Linked DNA regions of Homo sapiens: region 1 is linked to region 2. Evidence: promoter capture Hi-C in human tissues and cell types (Jung and others, 2019). All regions are on one chromosome and are shown on one strand. The core of a region is centred on a gene start or on the middle of the fragment in contact, and the rest is flanking DNA. Distances in the headings are between cores, read along the strand shown.

Region 1 (5,037 bases), core at 743-3,242, 330 kb after region 2:
TAACACCTAGAATATCCAGGACCCCCAAGTCAATGTTTTAAACTGTTGTTACATAAACTGGGTAACATGAGTTGGGGTGAGATTCATCACCATTGCTGACACCTCCTAATTCCCTCTCGATGTGCTAAAGTTTAATTATTAACTTAAAGCAGTCATGTGTGCTAGAGTGCAATGACCACGTCAGGCAGATGATAAGTAAGGGAAGTCCTAGAGTGCAGACTTTGAAGGCAAAATCTTGTCCTACTTGTATCTTGAAGTGACAGCAGCTGCAGTGAATCTAAGACTCCACCTGAGAAGAGATGAAAGACCTTGTCTAGGGTGTGCCTGTGGTAACTTAGGTCATGAGAGCAAGAGAGCTGCCTGTAAAGAGGCCAGTCTCAAAATTCAACTCGGAACTGAAGCAATCCCTGTGTCCAGAGACAGAAAAATGGATAAAGAAATGTGATATATACATACAATGGAATATTATTTAGCCTTAAAAAGTAACGAATACTGCCTGGGCGCAGTGGTTCACACCTGTAATCCCAGCACTTTGGGAGGCCAAGACAGGCAGATCACAAGGTCAGGAGTTCAAGACCAGCCTGGCCAATATGGTGAAACCCCATCTCTACTAAAAATACAAAAATTAGCTGCGTGTGGTGACACATGGCTGTAATCCCAGCTACTTGGGAAGCTGAGGCAGGAGAATCACTTGAACCTGGGAGGCGGAGTTTGCAGTCAGCCGAGATCGCACCACTGACTCCAGCCTGGGAAACAGAGTGAGACTCCATCTCAAAAAAAAAAAAAAAAAAAAGTAATGAATTCTGCCTGGGCGTGGTGGCTCACGCCTGTAATCCCAATACTTTGGGAGGCTGAGGCGGGCGGATCACCTGAGGTCAGGAGTTCGAGACCTGCCTGGCCAACATGGCGAAACCCCATCTCTACTAAAAAATACACACACACACACACACACACAAAACTAGTCAGGGGTGGTAGCACATGCCTGTAATCCCAGCTACTACTAGGGAGGCAGAGGTGGGAGAATTGCTTGAACCCGGGAGGCAGAGGTTGCGGTGAGCCAAGATCGCACCACTGCACTCCAGCCTGGGTGACAGAGCAAGACTCCGTCTCAAAAAAAAAAAAAGTAACAAATTCTGATATATGCTACAACATAGGTGAGCTTGGAGGACATTATGCTAAGTGAAATAAACCTCTCACACACTAATACTGTATGATTCCACTCACATGAGGTATCTAGAATAGTCAAATTCATAGAACAGAAAGTGGAATAGTGGTTGCCAGGTAGGAGGGGGTTGAAGGAATGTGGAATTGTTGCTTAATGGGTATAGAGTTTCAATTCTGCAACATGAAACCAGGCATGGTGGCCCATGCTTATAGTCCCAGCTAGTTAGGAGGCTGAGGCAGCAGGCTCACTTGAGGCCAGGAGGAGTTCCAGACCAGCCTGGGCAACATAATGAGACCCTGTCTCTACAAAACAATTCTTTTTTTTTTTTTGAGACTGAGTCTCGCTCTGTCGCCCAGGCTGGAGTGCGATGGCGCAATCTCAGCTCACTGCAAGCTCCACCTCCCGGGTTCACGCCATTCTCCTGCCTCAGCCTCCTGAGTAGCTGGGACTACAGGCGCCCACCACCACACCCAGCTAATTTTTTTGTATTTTTAGTAGAGACGGGGTTTCACCGTGTTAGCCAGGATGATCTCGATCTCCTGACCTAGTGATCCACCCGCCTCGGCCTCCCAAAGTGCTATGATTACAGGCGTAAGCCACTGTCCCGGCCAAAACAATTCTTTAAATAGCTGAGCATGGTGGTGTGGGCCTATAGTCCTGGCTACTGGGGAGGCTGAAGCAGGAGGATTGAGGTTACAGTGAGCCATAGTTGTGCCACAGTACTCTAGCCTGGGCAACAAAGTAAGACCTGATCCTAAAAAATTAAAATTAAAGTTACAGTCCAGGCGTGGTGGCTCACACCTGTAATCCCAGCACTTTGGGAGGCCGAGACGGGTGGATCACCTGAGGCCAGGAGTTTGAGACCAGCCTGGCCAACATGGTGAAACCCTCGTCTCTACTAAAAATATAAAAAAAATTAGCCAGGTGTGGTGGTGGATGCTTGTAATGCCAGCTACTTGGGAGGCTGAGGCAGGAGAATCGCTTGAACCCAGGAGCCAGAGGTCGCAGTGAGCCGAGATCATGCCATTGCACTCCAGCCTGGGCAACAAGAGTGAAACTCTGTCTCAAAAAAAAAAATAAAATAAAATAAAGTTACAAAAAAGAAAATGATCTGGAGATTGGTTATATGATAATGTAAACATACTTAACAGTACTGAGCTCTGAGCTGCTACTTTTTTTGTTGTTGTTGCCGAGGCTGGAGTGCAGTGGCCTGATTTCGGCTCACTGCAACTTCTGCTTCCCAGGCTCAAGTGATCCTCCCACCTCAGCCTCCCAAGTAGCTGGGACTGGGACTACAGGTGTGTGCCACCATAGCAGGCTAGTTTTTGTATTTTTGGTAGAGAAGTGGGTCTCACTATGTTACCCAGGCTGCTCTTGAACTCCTGGACTCAACTGATCTGCCCACCTCAACCTCCCAAAGTGCTGGGATTACAGGCATGAGCCACTGCACCTGCCTGAGCTGCCTACTTAAAAATAGTTAAGATAGTAAATTTTATGTTGTATGTATTTTCACTACAATTTAGAAAAACACAAAATTCAGATGAATATCACTGTTCTCCTATTTTGCTGATACGATTATTACTTATTGTTAATAGGTTTTTAAAAAATGTTTGGCTGGGCACCGTGGCTCACGCCTGTAATCCAACAACTTTGGGAGGTTGAGGCAGGAGGATCGCTTGAGCCCAAGAGTGGGAGACCAGCCTGGGCAACATGGCAAAACCTCATCTCTACAAAAAGTACAAAAAATTAGCTGAGTGTGGTGGCACATGCCTGTAGTCCCAGCTACTTGGGAGTCTTAGGAAGGAAGATCACCTGAGCCTGAGAGATCGAGGCTGCAGTGATTGTGCCACTGCACTCCAGCCTGGGCAACAGAGAACCTGTGTCAAAATAAAAAAATTAATTAATTAATTAATTCAGCAGAATGCAGATTATAAACAAAAGAAAAAGAAAGGAAAAAAATTTTTTAAAAAGCATTTGCAAAACCTACTGAAGTTATTTACTTTTTTTTTTTAAATTAACACTCCCTAATACTTTTTTTATCTCTATTGATGAGAGAAATAATCTACACTTAACCATGGAAATTTTTTCCAAAGAATCATGGTTCTCCAGTTAAGAGCAACATTTTAAGCAGAGCAATATCATTAAACATGAAAATGCTATGAGATATGTCTCTAAAGTGGCACTACACAAATCTTACTTAAAATTCACTAGGGGCTCGGTATGGTGGCTCATGCCTGTAATCCCAGCACTTTGGGAGCCAAAGCACAAGGATTGCTGGAAGCTAGGAGATCAACACCAGCCTGGGCAATAAAGTGACATCCCTGTCTCTATTTAAAAAATAAATAAGGCCAAGTGCTGTGGCTCATGCCTGTAATCCCAGCACTTTGGGATGCCAAGGCAGGCAAAGGCAGGCAGATCACCTGAGGTCAGGAGTTCAAGACCAGCCCGGCCAACATGGCGAAACCCCATCTCTACTAAAAATACAAAAAGTATCCAGATGTGGTGTCGGGAGCCTATAATCCCAGCTACTCAGGAGGCTGAGGCAGGAGAATTGCTTGAACCCGGGAGGCGGAGGTTGTGGTGAGCCGAGATCGCGCCACTGCACTCCAGCCTGGGCAACAGAGTGAGACTCTGTCTCAAAATTAATAATAATAATAATAATAATAATAATAATAAACAAATAAAACAAAATGCACTAGGATACATGCTGAGATATACTTGAAGTGAGTCAAAGATTTAAATGTAAAACATGAAACCAAAGATTTAAATGTAAACTGTGTAAGTACAAACACACACATATACCTGAGAAAATTCCTTTCTAAACTTCAGGGGGTTGAGTTTTCTAACTAAAACTTAAAATCTACAATGCATAAAAGAAAAAATGAACAAAATTTACTACATGAAAATAGAAGCAAGACCTCTTCTCCACAAAAAAAATAAACAAAAAATTAACTGAGTGTGGTAGCGCCACCTTGCAGTCCCACCTACTCAAGCAGCTAAGGTGAACTAATTGCTGGAGCCCAGGAGTTCCAGGCCAGCCTAGGAAACATAGCAAAACTCTGTCTCTACCCAAAAATACAAGAATTAGCCAGGTGCGGTGACACGCACCTGCAGTCCCAGCTACTCAGGAGGCTAAGGAGGGAGGATCACTTGAGCCTGGGAGGTCAAGGCTGGGGTGAGCCATGATCGCACCACTGCACTCCACCCTGGGAAACAAAGTAAGACCTTGTCTCAAAAAATAAAAAAGAAACATTTAGAGACCAGGAATTGCCACAGCACTCTAGTCAACCAGTCTAGGCAACAGAACAAGACTCTGTCTATTGTCTCTAAAAAAAAAAAAAAAAATTGAGGCCAGACATGGTGGTTCACACCTGTAATCCCAGCAATTTGGCAGGCAGAGACAGAAGGATTGCTTGAGCCTAAGAGTTTGAGACCAGCCTGGGCAAAACAGTGAGATTTCATCTCTATAAAAAATTATGTAAAGGCCGAGCGCAGTGGCTTACTCCTGTGTAATCCCAGCAGATTGGGAAGCCAAGGCAGGTGGATCACCTGAGGTCAAGAGTTTGAGACCAGCCTGACCAACATGGGGAAACCCTGTCTCTGCTAAAAATACAAAAATTAGCCAGGTGTGGTGGCACAGGCTTGTAATCCCAGCTACTTGGGAGGCTGAGGCAGGAGAATCACTTGAACCCAGGAGACAGATATTACAGTGAGCCAGATCACACCTTTGTACTCCAGCCTGGGCAACAAGAACGAAACTGCTTCTCAAAAAAAAAAAAAAATTACATAAATTTAAAAATGTCTATATGGCATTATAAAACCCATAAAAGATAAATAAAAAGACAAATGACATATTAAGGAACAAAATTTGC
Region 2 (5,527 bases), core at 684-3,183:
TAGGGGCTCACCATTTCTCAGCATATGTTCTGTGGACTACTGGCGTCAGAATCAACTGTGGTGCTTGATAAAAATGCAGTTTCCTGGTCCCAACCTGGACCTACTAAATATGGATCTATGTAGTGGGGCCTGGAAATTTTTATCTTTTTTTTTTTTCCCTTAACTCAGGCTGGACTGCAGTGGCACGGTCACAGCTCACTGTAGCCTTGACCTCCCCAGGCTCAGGTGATCCTCCCACCTCAGCCTCCTGAGTAGCTGGGACTACAGATAAGCGCCACCATGCCCGGCTAGTTTTTTGTTTTTGTTTTTTTGTATTTTTTGTAGAGACAGGATTTTGCCATGCTGCCCAGGCTGGTCTCGAATTTCTGTGGCTCAAGTAATCCTCCCGCCTCAGCCTCCCAAAGTGCTGAGATTACAGGTGTGAGCCACCATGTCCTGCTTTTATAATTTTTAAACAATCTTCTCATCTGATGTTTATGTACACAAACATTTCTGAATCATTGTTGTATGTATTAGGGAACTGTTCAACCGGTTTTATTTTCCCTTAAAGAAAGGGTGGTATGACCAAAGACAGTGATGTATACAAGATATAAGAAGGATTCAGGGCTACCGAAAAGGCACTGTAGAGTCTAGGTATGACCTGATAAGGATCTAAAATAGTACTGTTGACAGTAAAAACAGGGAAAAAGAAACTGATCCAACAATATGAAGGAAGGACCAACATGATTCAAAGTCTGATCAGGACTGAGAGGACTTAAATTAAAATGATGTGTTGTATACTAAGCCTCTGATATTAGAATGTTGCTATCATGAACAGAAACAAGAAGACTGTCACAGGCAGCCTCCTTTAAAGAAAAAATAAAGTTCTTTTTATTTCATTAATTTAATTAATTTTTAAGAGATGGAGTCTTGCTATGTTACCCAGGCTGGATTTGAACTCCTGGGCTCCACCAGTGATCCTCCTACCTCAACCTACCTAGTAGCTGGGATTACAGATATGTGCTGCCATATCCAGTTCTTTTTTTTTTTTTTTTTTTTTTTTTTTTTTTTTTTGAGACAGAGTCTTACTCTGTCTTCCTGGCTGGAGTGCAGTGGCATGATCTTAGCTCATGCAGCCAAGATCTCATGATCTCTGCAGCCTCCACGTCCCGGGTTCAAGCTATTCTCCTGTCTCAGCCTCCCAAGTAGGTGGGACTACAGGTGCATGCTACCCTGCCTGGTTAATTTTTATATTTTTAGTAGAGACAGGTTTTCTCTATGTTGGCCAGGCTGGTCTTGAACTCCTGGCCTCAAGTGATCTGCCTGCGTCAACCCTCCCAACGTGCTGGGATTACAGGTGTGAGCCACCGTGTTCAGCCCATACCTAGTTCTTAAAGTCTGTTTCAGTCATGTTAAACTTGAGGTGATGACAGGATGTTTGACAGTTGTGTGTGTGTGTGTGTGTGTGTGTGTGTGTGTGTATACACACACTACACCACACGAAAGCATTTTCTGTCCCATATAATCTAAGTTTACTAGATATTTTCTCAAATAATTGCTGCAGTTCCACAATTGTTACATTATCTGATCAGTATCCCATGGACTCCAAACTCACATTTTCAAATCAGTCTGTAGATTTCAAATAAGTCTTTTAGAGAAGATTTGAAATGGAAGATACCATTTCAAAACCTCTTTTGAATGACACTAAAGCATGTAGCAGGCCTATAGAATGAGCATACTGTCAAAAGGCATTAAGTGGAAAACCCTCCCTGCTCTGGAGGCGGGGATTGGTTCTACAAAGCCTCCTGTCATGCCAGTGGCCAACTAGAGAAGTTGGAGCTTTTTCGTTGTTTTTTTTTTTTTCCCTCCTGTGACATGTGCTTTAGTTGCAGTGGAAAGGAAATGTGTCATCTGTGGTTTGGTTTTAAAAGTGGAAAACTAGCTGCACATATCCTTTTTTACTGCAGATTTACTTTAAGGCTCATATTCTCCAAGTCTATTCTGCTTTAAAAAGAAGACAAGAAAAGAAGTGGTTTATCAAAATCACGTTATAATCAGATTTTGACCAAGCATTTTGTAAGGTAGGTCATATATATACGGCTTTTCTTATGCCTTTTCACTTCTAACGTCTGACAGATTAGTGTTCGAGGAAATGCTATCAAAGTGTGTAAGAATCTCACTAACAAACTAGAATTGTGACTGAAAATGTATACTTTTTTTTTCTGTCCTGTTACATAAATTTTAAGTTAGAAATGAAAAAATTTGCCATCGCCATGGAGTTTTAAATTAGGATTACGAAGGATCTAAGTTTGGTTTCCTCAAGTAAACTGGAAATGTTTTGTTATTTTTCAAAAGTTAAAAAATAAATTTCTCATTACTAATGCTTGGACATTACAAATTCTACTGAAAATAAATTCTACTGAAAATGATCAGATATAAGAAAACTTCTGATAACACAACCTGGCCTCCAAGGCATAAACTGGAGTAAAAACAGTCCTCAATTCTCAGGCATTTGTAAGGGCAAGAGAAAGTCTCATTTTGTCATACAGTTTGTTTATTTGGGCACTGCAGTACATCTGGCTGAAGACAATCAACAGCAGGCCTATTATCTGTTCCGTGGTAAGCACTGTTAAAATGTGTACCAATACTATGATGTATACTACACTGTTAATGAACTAATGTGAAAAGAATAATCTACTTTAAATCATTCTAGCATCTAATACAGAAGTCCAGTCTAGTATAAAAAGATGGAAATTACTTGCTAATCCAATTTCAAGTATTTCTTTTTGTGGAAGAATCATGAAATATCCAAAGATTTATGTCACTAAACTTAAAAATTAAAGCTGAACACTATTATACAAAAGCCAGTGACTTGGGCCTTTAATTGTCTACTAAAGGTCATAATCTAAAAAGTAATCTTAATCCTGGAATATTTAATAGTTTTTCCTCCCTACTATTAATATGAAATATAGTCTCCAGTTAGCATTGTTTATTACATGCTACTTTTGTTTGCATAACTCAACGTATCACATTTCTTATTTTCAATTTCTGTATTTTAATAGTATACAAATGTCAGCCAATGACATATAACAACCATTTCTTATAAAACCTTGATGTTCAAAAGCCTGACTAGCAGTGGCATCCATGTTGCTTAGGAGTTGGTTTGGAAACAAAGACTTTCAGGCCCTACCTATACTAGCTAGGTAAGAATCTGCCTTTTTTTTTTTTTTTTAAATAAAAGGACTCCTAAGTACATTTGAGAAGAATTTCTATAGCATACGTAGGGTTCTTAACCAGGCAATTTCATTTAGTAAATCTCAGGAGAACAATATAGTTTTGCTTTTAGTTCATTCAAATAAATGCTAACAATAAAATACTCCTTTCAAAAGTAGCTCAAGACAAACTGGTATATTATTATAAGATACCTTAATAATGATTATAAATCTTTCCTGCTGGGTTAGCAGTACATGGAACTGTTAAATTCTAAGATATGCCATTTCTATTTAAATCAATCATTTGGTAGATTTAAAAAATGTATAATATAACTTGTCTCCTTTTTGTACTAGTTTCCAGCAAGCTCAGGGCCAAAGCGGAAATTCAACATTTTCAATTATCTGTTGAGATGCTTATAACCTGCCACTTCATCCCAAATCATCAAGATCCTGATGCTCTATTTCTATTTTATTACACATTTTTTTTTACAATTATGTCAAAATCAGAAAAAATGCTAGGTATAAATGATGCTTTAAAAGAAAACCCAGCAACTTTTGTTGAACTTTTAAGTCTACTCAGAGGAAATTTGCTGTTTTTTTTTTTTTTTCTTCAGATTTTTAGGTTGAGAAAACTGGTATGCCTTTGCCTTCAGAAAGACACAGTCAGTCCAGGGAAATATAAATGAAAAGAGACAACCACCACAGTAAAATTGCGTTCACAAATACACTTACAAATGTATTTCTAAGTACCAGCTTTATTCTAAGCTTCAAGATGAACACCCAAGAAAAAAAAAGAACACCTTGAATTTCTATTTGAAGTTCAGTTTCTTTTGGTTGCTACCAAACTTCCCCTCTTTCCACCAAAAAAATTTGCATTTATTTCATACATGAAGCAAGAAGCTCAAGGCCACATTTCTTCTGTAAAGATTGGTGACAGGTTAGAGGGTGGGTAGTTTCTGTAAGAATGATCCTTAATTTTTTTTTTTTTTTAAAGAAGGAATCAGAAAAGTAAAAGCAGAACTAACTGACTCAAAGCAGAAGTCTAGCACGCTTCAAAGGAAGAAAACTATATAAAGCCATGATAGTCCACTTAAAATGATTAATATTTATTTGTAATGCTAACTTCTAGCATCTAAAAGTGTTAATAGAAATTAAAATGCTTCTTCATACATAGCTGAATAGAAAAGAAATTTAGTTGAGAAGGAATTCAGGGTAGCGAATATTAGGCATAAGCTTGTAGTTTACTTGTAACATCTCAACACTATCTTTTAACTACAATTACCAAAACTAGGATCCATTATTCTTTCACAAACTAACAAATTATATTGCTATCCCAACAGATTGCCAAGCATGCCCACGGACATGGAACACACAGGACATTACCTACATCTTGCCTTTCTGATGACAACAGTTTTTTCTTTGTCTCCTGGAACAAAAGCAAACTATACCCGTCTGTGGGCTAACAGTACTTCTTCCTGGGATTCAGTTATTCAAAACAAGACAGGCAGAAACCAAAATGAAAACATTAACACAAACCCTATAACTCCTGAAGTAGATTATAAAGGTAATTCTACAAACATGCCTGAAACATCTCACATCGTAGCTTTAACTTCTAAATCTGAACAGGAGCTTTATATACCTTCTGTCGTCAGCAACAGTCCTTCAACAGTACAGAGCATTGAAAACACAAGCAAAAGTCATGGTGAAATTTTCAAAAAGGATGTCTGTGCGGAAAACAACAACAACATGGCTATGCTAATTTGCTTAATTATAATTGCAGTGCTTTTTCTTATCTGTACCTTTCTATTTCTATCAACTGTGGTTTTGGCAAACAAAGTCTCTTCTCTCAGACGATCAAAACAAGTAGGCAAGCGTCAGCCTAGAAGCAATGGCGATTTTCTGGCAAGCGGTCTATGGCCCGCTGAATCAGACACTTGGAAAAGAACAAAACAGCTCACAGGACCCAACCTAGTGATGCAATCTACTGGAGTGCTCACAGCTACAAGGGAAAGAAAAGATGAAGAAGGAACTGAAAAACTTACTAACAAACAGATAGGTTAGTGAAGAAAAATGCAAAGTAGCAATGAGAAGGCTTATGGAGTAAAAATGAAGTCAGTTGGTATTTAATCCCAAAGTGTTGTTCTGATTATCTAAAATTTGACATGGTAGACCTTGCAATTTAGAATCAAGCAGGTGAGACAGGGAGAAGTATGCCTGCTTAATTATTTAAACTGTGTACTTTTGTTTTGACACTGAATATTTTAAAAAGCAAATAATAAAATAACTAAGCATTTGAGGAAAATTTTAAGGATAAATTGAGGAAACTGATTAATAGA

What was found. The method cuts DNA at HindIII sites, captures the fragments that hold promoters and counts their contacts. A contact is called where the count stands out against the background at its distance.
Region 1: a fragment that was not itself captured here is called in contact with the fragment with the promoter of EVI2A in region 2 in 1 of the 25 tissues and cell types used here (lymphoblastoid cells).

Annotation. Positions count from the first base shown.
Region 1 is chr17:30,991,845-30,996,881 of GRCh38, reverse strand. All of the region lies in intron 3 of RNF135 (ring finger protein 135), which reads right to left. Among named protein-coding and RNA genes, the nearest start is that of RNF135, 23 kb to the right of the region's middle. The HindIII fragment of the contact is 7,055 bases long and covers 1-5,037 here.
Region 2 is chr17:31,318,028-31,323,554 of GRCh38, reverse strand. EVI2A (ecotropic viral integration site 2A) reads left to right here and starts at 1,933. Exons shown (of 2, transcript NM_014210.4): 1 at 1,933-2,060; 2 at 4,532-5,527. The coding sequence starts at 4,542. The coding sequence ends at 5,252. The region is part of intron 36 of NF1 (neurofibromin 1); the gene reads right to left. RefSeq lists enhancers at 4,785-4,844, 5,055-5,104. The HindIII fragment of the contact is 10,482 bases long and covers 1-4,190 here.